2 separate regions of the Homo sapiens genome follow, and region 2 is linked to region 1. Evidence: promoter capture Hi-C in 16 types of primary human blood cells and fetal thymus (Javierre and others, 2016). All regions are on one chromosome and are shown on one strand. The core of a region is centred on a gene start or on the middle of the fragment in contact, and the rest is flanking DNA. Distances in the headings are between cores, read along the strand shown. Region 1 holds the start of KIN (Kin17 DNA and RNA binding protein). Region 2 overlaps LOC101928272 (a long non-coding RNA gene).

Region 1 (3,639 bases), core at 584-3,083:
AAAGATATTTCTAAAATTTTTTGTAAAATATTGTCTTTGTTTCAGAAACTATTTCCACTTTTTTAAAGATCAACTTAGAAACTAAGGTTGTAAAAATACTGACAGATAACATTAATGCGTGGCAAGAAGGTAAGGCCAGGAGAGCTGATGTTCGCAGAGCACCACTGCATGCCAGGCACTGTCCCAGGAAACTGACTGAGACCTTATCTATTTGCTCACCATCACATTTGGGCACTTTCCAAGTACCACCGGGTGGAGTGGAAGCACTCAGCTAATGTCTGCTGAGTGGTTAACAAGTGGGACAATCTATACAACTGAGAATTCAACTACAGTGACCTTTTAATTCCCATGAATGTTCTTTTTCCATATTAGAGAAAAAAAAATCTGACTTCCAAGGCCAAGCCACCAAAAATTTTATGTGGCTAATTCACATCAGATATCATTCTGAAAATCTCGTATATTACTATCAGTTATTTGCTTAATGAAAAACCTATTTATTTCAACTAATGCTTTATGGTCCCTTCATATAAATTAGGATACGAAAATCTAGTTTAGCACTGTAGCGCCTTAGAAATCCTCCACACTGTTAAGAGCAGGGAATTGCTACGACACAGCCTAGAATCCCCTTAGCAGCGTGTCTGGAATTCTTCCAGATTCCGTCAAGCTTCAAAACTGAACAGCACCACCCACAAACCAACTTTTACCTGCCCATTCCCGGGCCTTCTAATATGCACTTCCCCCAGCCCAGGTCCCCCTACCCGGAACTAATGTTTAAAATTCTCGAGGCTCGTGGCACCCTTTAGTTGCATGTCAGTTAACAAATGCCACTTAAAAGCCCACCGAACTCCTCCCCCAGGACCTGGGGGCAATTTCATGACCTTGCAGGGTTACGGTTTCAGCAAGTGGTTTCAAGGTAGTGCTAGGTGTCCTTCCCTTCCCCGCCCTCAGACAGATCTGTACGGTCCCTTCTGCACCAAAACCACCCTCAGAGGCATCTAGGATGTTCGCCTTTGCTGTTGCAGCACCCAGCAAAGCGTCTGCAACACGGGAGGTGCTCGACGGCCGCGCTCTCTGACTCGATCGAATCTTAAAGGGTCACTCTGTCCAGCACTACAGGGTTTCAAAGGGCGTCAAGGACAAAAAGCACGACTTAACCTTCCCCTGGGCTATTGCTCAGGCTCCCGTCACCTTGCAGGCCCTGAGACTGGGGGCCTGGCTTGCAGTGGAAGTGGAAGCTCAGGAAGTGCTGATTAGCTGAGGGAACTCAAGACCGCCCAGACGTCAATTTGGACTCAGGCCGCAGTCCCGAGGTCCCAGGTGGCCCTCCGACCTCAGGGAACCGGGCGGGACCTTGCTCCGCCGGAGCCCGGCCCTGCGCACACCTTGCCCGACCTCAGAGCCGCTTCCTGCAGCCCCCGCTACCCGGCGCCTCCGACGGGCCAGGGGCCCAGCTAGGCCCTGCGACCCCACATCTGCCCCCGCGCCCATCTCCTCCTCCCTGCCCCGTGCCCAAGCTCTTCCATCCCTTGCGGTCCTGCCGATCTTCCCGCAAGCTGCCATACCATTGCGGCTGCAAGGTCCAGGCCGACAGCCCAGCGACACCCGCGCGAGAGAACATGGTAGCCACAGCCCTGCTGAAGGTCGGTCAGGCAGGCCTCAGCGCGCATGCGCCGAAGCTCCCCAGCGCGCCCCTCCCACCTTGCTCTCTTCTTCAGTCTCGTTTCTTCGCGCTACGGCGAGGGGAGTCTCGCGACCGTTGCAACCCAGTCTTCCCAGGCCCCACCTCCTTCCGCCTCTCAGCTGGGATTTGTCCCGCCCACCGCCGCCAGCCCGGTTCCGTTTCCGGCTGGCTGAGTACTGGGGTCCAGAAAGTGATCGCTGCCGTGGTCGCCATGGGGAAGTCGGATTTTCTTACTCCCAAGGCTATCGCCAACAGGATCAAGTCCAAGGGGCTGCAGAAGCTACGCTGGTATTGCCAGATGTGCCAGAAGCAGTGCCGGGACGAGGTGAGTGGGCCCGGAGTGGCCCCGTCTTCCCAGGAGGGCCCCTGGCAATCCAGGATCAGGTCCTGGACGCGGGGCTGAGGGCGCGGGGCTGGGGCTCCCGGGGTCCGGGTCGTGAGGCTTCTGAGGTCTGCAGTGGGCGAGTCAACTACTCAGCGCACGAGAGCCGTCCCTCCCCGCAGCCCCCGGGCCCAGCGGGCAGCCTGTGTTCTGCGACCCCTCATTCCTCCCCAGTCCGATCCCCACCACCAAAGAAATGAAATCAGAAAAGGTTTTGCACCCCTCACAGGGGCGGGGATACTGCAATACTAGACGCCCGGGCAATGCCAGTAACAGTCATCAGCTCTTACTTGACTTGACTCTTAAGAGAAACAGGGTGGTTAGGATTCACTCCTCTTTTGGGATCAGGTGAAAAAGGAGAGCTAAGCTCTTCCACACTACTCATCTAGCAAGCATTTATTGAGCACCTACACTGTACCGGGCACAGAATAATATTGTGGTTAAAATTATGGATTTATCTGGTTTATGGATATATCAGACTGTCAAAATTTAAAGTCAAGCAGGGCCACTTACCAACCGTGTGGTCTTGGGCAAGTTATTTACTTATATTCCCCTTTACTTATCTGTAAAGAGGGAATAATAATTTCACCTACTTGTAGGATTGTCGCTGAGTTTTAAATGAGTGAAGTATATATAGAGTGGCTCAAGGAGTCTGGGCAGATCTCGAAAAGCCTTATATGGCTACACTATGGAATTTACACTTTTCCCCATTAAAGAGGTGGTTGATTGAATGCTGTGCAGGCTAGTGATGTGATCATATTTTTCTCCGGAGATTGGACTGGATTGGGTAAGGGTGGAAGAACACTGAGGCAATTGGAATAATCTAATCCAGTGTTTCTGCAAGTGAAGGAAGAGGTATTTTAGGTAGGACTCATACTAATATTGATACAGTTACTCTCTTTAGTTCTATTAAGGAATACCTGTATATGCATTATCTAATGTCTTAGTCTGCTTGGACTGCCATATAAAGTGCAGTAGACTGGGTGGTTTAAATGACAGAAATTTATTTCTCACAGTTCTGGAGGCTGGGAAGTTCAAGATCAAGGTGCTGGCATGGTCAGATTCTAGTGAGGGTCCTCTTCTTGGTTTGCGAAACTGCCTCTATCCTCACAAAGCAGATAGAGCAAGCTCTAATAGAAACTTCTCTTCCTCTTTTTTTTTTTGAGATACGGTCCCACCCTGTTCATCATGCAGGCTCTACCCTTGTGACCTCATCTAAATCCAGTCATCTCCAAAGGCCCACCTTTTAATTCCATTCCCTTGGGGGTTAGGGTTCAATATATGAACTTTGAGGGGACGCAGACATGCAGTCTGTAACACCCAGACTTAACACTTTAAGTAATTTTGCCGTATTTACTTTTTAAAAAATATTTTAAGGTAAATACCAATATCAGGATATTTCACCTTTAAATACTTAAATAGGCATCTCTAAAATTTCAGGATACTTTTCTATATAACCATAGTATATGTCATCAACATAACACAATTAATAGAAGTTCCTCTTTATCATCTAATACACATTCACACTTCCTCAGTTGTCCTCCAACTGCTCCTTGAAATCAAGATTCGATCAAAA
Region 2 (3,639 bases), core at 287-2,786, 1.4 Mb before region 1:
GAGAAAATGTTCTGATTTGAATTAGTTAGCTGTATTCTGCATTCAGCACATTTACAAGCTTTGAAATATCGGACATTGGCAAGCAAGCACTAACATTTTATAAGTAGCAGTTTGCATCCAGGTTTGAGGTAATGTAATCCAACATGCACGAGAACACAGTCTAGGTCCCCTTCTCCCTTCTAAGCATAGCAGAAGGATTAGGAATAATGAATGGTGTGAATTTTGCCACCTAGAGGGTTTCATTTTGATACCTGTTACACAGTCCTCTTGAGCACTGTGCTCATTTTTCCTATTGCTGAGATATGGAAAATAAAACAGTAATAGGAACGTGCACTGACAACACACCATGTCAATGCCCTAAAACGCAAAGTCTTGGAGAGGGTTCCATAATGGCTTCAGTAGAAGCATAGCTCATTCCCTGCTTTGCTAATCAATTTTCTGCATGCCATGTTCTCCCCGTTATACCTCATCCCTTAGGCTACTCTTGTAGCCCAAGTCAACCACACAGGTGATATACACCGGTGGAATAGGTCAGGGCAATTTCTTGAGGCACTGGAGGGGGAAAACCTGGGGTCTCTCCTCAGCCCTCCAATGTGTCCATAATGCTCCTCATGTGCCACAGGCTCCGTGCCACCATGGAATTTGATCTGGAAGTCTAGAGCCCTTTTCAGGGAGTTGTTTAAGCCTTTAGTCCTTGTTTCTTCACTCTTAGTGTAATTCTGTGTCATTTTAGAGCCAGAAACACTGTTGTAACAGTCAAATGTAGTAATTAAGACTGTAGTATCAGATCACTGGCTTTTCAATCTTTTTCTAAAAGGCTCTATGATCTCAGGCAAATTTACTGAACTCTTCTTGCTGTAATATGGGGAGACAGTGGCCCTCACTTCATAGATTGTAGTGAGATTAAATAAGTTAATATATGTAAAGCTTTAATAAAGTACTTAGCAAATAGTATATACAGTACTATGCAAGTTTTAGCTATAAAATGACAATAACATTTCACATAAAAAGGTTACTATTAATTGTTACTACCATTTCCTAATTATTGATTTATGTAATAAGCTATGCCCCAAACCTACCAGGTTTAACTCTTGGTATTCAGTGTGAACTGAATTATATTCCCCTCAAATTCATTTATTGAAACACTAATGTGCTGGCATTAGAAGGCAAGGCATTTGGGAGGTAATTAGGTCATGAAGGTAGAATCCTCATGATGGGATTAATGCCCTTATTAGAACAGACTGAAGAGAAATTTTACTCTGCCATGAGAGACACATAAAAAAAAAAAAAAAAGATGAAGTCTACAAGCCAGGAAGCAAGCTCCCACCAAGAACTGAATCAGCCAGCACCTTGTTCTTGAATTTCCCAGCCTCCAGAACTGTGAGAAATAAATATTAGTAGTTCAAGTCACCCAGACGGTGATATTTTTTGATATTTTGTGACAGCAGCCCATACAAACCAAGGCTATCTTCAAGCAAACAATTTAGAAGTTCACAATTTTTTTTCTGTCAAATATGTGGTGTTCGCAAATTGAAAGCATCTTGGATTTCAGGTTAGTATCCCTAGTACATATTTTAAAACTTATTTAGAGATTCAATTGACTTATTTTATTTGAGTCTATGTCCACCTTTCTCCTGAGGCAGAGAATGCCTCTGCCACAGGTCTCAAAATCCTCTGGTTAACACAAAAATTACAGAAAATGCAAAATTCCAGCCTAGGAATTAAACACTCTCATGTGTAAATTTGTGTAATGTAGAAGTTTAATAGCAAAGAAAGAGAAATTGTTATACCTATCAATCAAGCAGGAGCTTCTCCTTAAAATCTTTCAACATGAATCACATGGCTTAGCAGGGGTAAAATATTTTAGGAGCCTCCTCCTAGAGGATCTCACTCAATCTTACTCCCTTGTAGAACAGGCGATATCTTCACCATGCGCACAATGAAATCAATACTCAGAGAAGGCAGATAATTCTCCACGAAGCCAGAAAACTAATAAATGAACAGTAAGTAACAACACAATCAAATACCCTCTTCATATAGATCACTCATTTTAGAATTTTGAAATTGAATCATGCACTGTGTAACTGTGCAGTGGAATGCTTTCTTTTTGTTTTTTTTTCTTGATTCTCAATATAAGAAGCTTATAAATTTGTCTTTTTAATGGTTGGGATCATATCTAATAAATTTAATGGTTGGGATCATATCTAATGAATTGGCTGTACTAATGTGGAAGCTCTGTAGACTCAATAATGATTGATCTGTTTTCCTCCGCTCTATGAACTGCTGCCCAGAGGGTGCTCATGGCATTATCCACATGCATCCCTGTGCATCTAAATTCCTGAAGGAATGTGTATTCTAAGGCAAAATTCATAATGGTAATGTTGAAGAAATAAAAAGTAGCATATAAAAACTCTGAGTATAATTATTTAAAAAATTTTATTAGTTCAGGTCAAAAATTTCAGGAATAAGGTCATATTAAAACTTTGCATGGAAAAATTAACTTTAATTTGTACTAAGCCTTAGAGTTAAGTTTTAATAATTTCTATAAGGAAGAGCAGAACGAACCAAGATGAAAGTATCGTTTATGTGCTAGCACGTTTTTGTTATCCCAAAATAATTAGCAGAAGTAGATAAATTAGTTTAAGCTTTTACAGATCACTGTTCTAACATAAAGATGTACACCTGACTCATATAGAAATAAGGGATTCACTTTGTTCAGCTTTCTGGCAATGGGGGTTGGTGGGAGGCCCAATTTACATTGTGGAAGACGAGTAGCTTTAAAAAAGAAAAGTCAGGAAATGTCCAAACTTAATAGATACTATGGTAATGAGTATAAAGCACAGCAGAGGGAAGATAATAATAAACGTGTAATTGGCATCTGTGAAGAGAACATTATGACATTTTATTACTGGAAAATTGCATACCAAAATCTCTAGAAACATTGGCCATCACATCTTTGAAAACCACAAGCAAGTATATTTCATATGTGAATAAATCCATATACTCAGAACCACAGTTTTATGGTACTTAAGATGGATCTTTTGATATTGTAATGATGAAATAGGTCTCTCGAGGAAAGATGAAAAGGTAAAGCCAAGGCTTGTTTAAAAGATCAAAAAGAGAGATGCTGTGAATGCTCTCAGCAAATATGATGCTCTCTTTATCTGGATGCATTCCTGTTCTAAAGATAAATGGATATTTCTCAATAAAAATATAGAATCTTAACATTTTTGAAGTGTTGAGGAAAAACAAAGTGACAACAAAGTAAAGATATCTGAAGATAACAACAGTTCCTTGATTTCTTAAACAGTGCAAAGAAGTTAAAGTAGAAGGAAGTTAGGCCTTTGCACATTTAAATTTCATCAGGGCATCTTATAAAACTTTGGCAATTTTATTAGATCTTGGATTCCTCACCTAAAAATATTAATGTATGTACTAAACTAACTTTAAGTTCTCTTCATGCTCTTTATTATAAAAATATAGTACATTAACTTGGAGTACATCTTAGGGACATCTTGAAAACCATATTTTAAAAAATAATCTCTAATGGAGAAAGAAAGGTGTCTCTCTCTGACAATACAGGTGAAATTTGTAAGCTACTTTAGGCAAGTTCCTTCCTCACTTTTCCAAAGGAATGCA

What was found. The method cuts DNA at HindIII sites, captures the fragments that hold promoters and counts their contacts. A CHiCAGO score of 5 or more calls a contact.
Region 2: a fragment that was not itself captured here is called in contact with the fragment with the promoter of KIN in region 1 in 1 of 17 cell types (endothelial precursors); the score reaches 6.2 in endothelial precursors.

Annotation. Positions count from the first base shown.
Region 1 is chr10:7,786,187-7,789,825 of GRCh38, reverse strand. It overlaps KIN (Kin17 DNA and RNA binding protein), which reads left to right and starts at 1,833. Exons shown (of 13, transcript NM_012311.4): 1 at 1,833-2,006. The coding sequence starts at 1,893. It overlaps ATP5F1C (ATP synthase F1 subunit gamma), which reads right to left and starts at 1,649. Exons shown (of 10, transcript NM_001001973.3): 1 at 1,563-1,649. The coding sequence starts at 1,618. RefSeq lists enhancers at 565-1,108, 1,561-1,880. The HindIII fragment of the contact is 3,793 bases long and covers 667-3,639 here.
Region 2 is chr10:9,195,004-9,198,642 of GRCh38, reverse strand. LOC101928272 (a long non-coding RNA gene) reads left to right here. Exons shown (of 5, transcript NR_120635.1): 5 at 1-1,277. Among named protein-coding and RNA genes, the nearest start is that of LINC00709, 79 kb to the left of the region's middle. The HindIII fragment of the contact is 1,213 bases long and covers 930-2,142 here.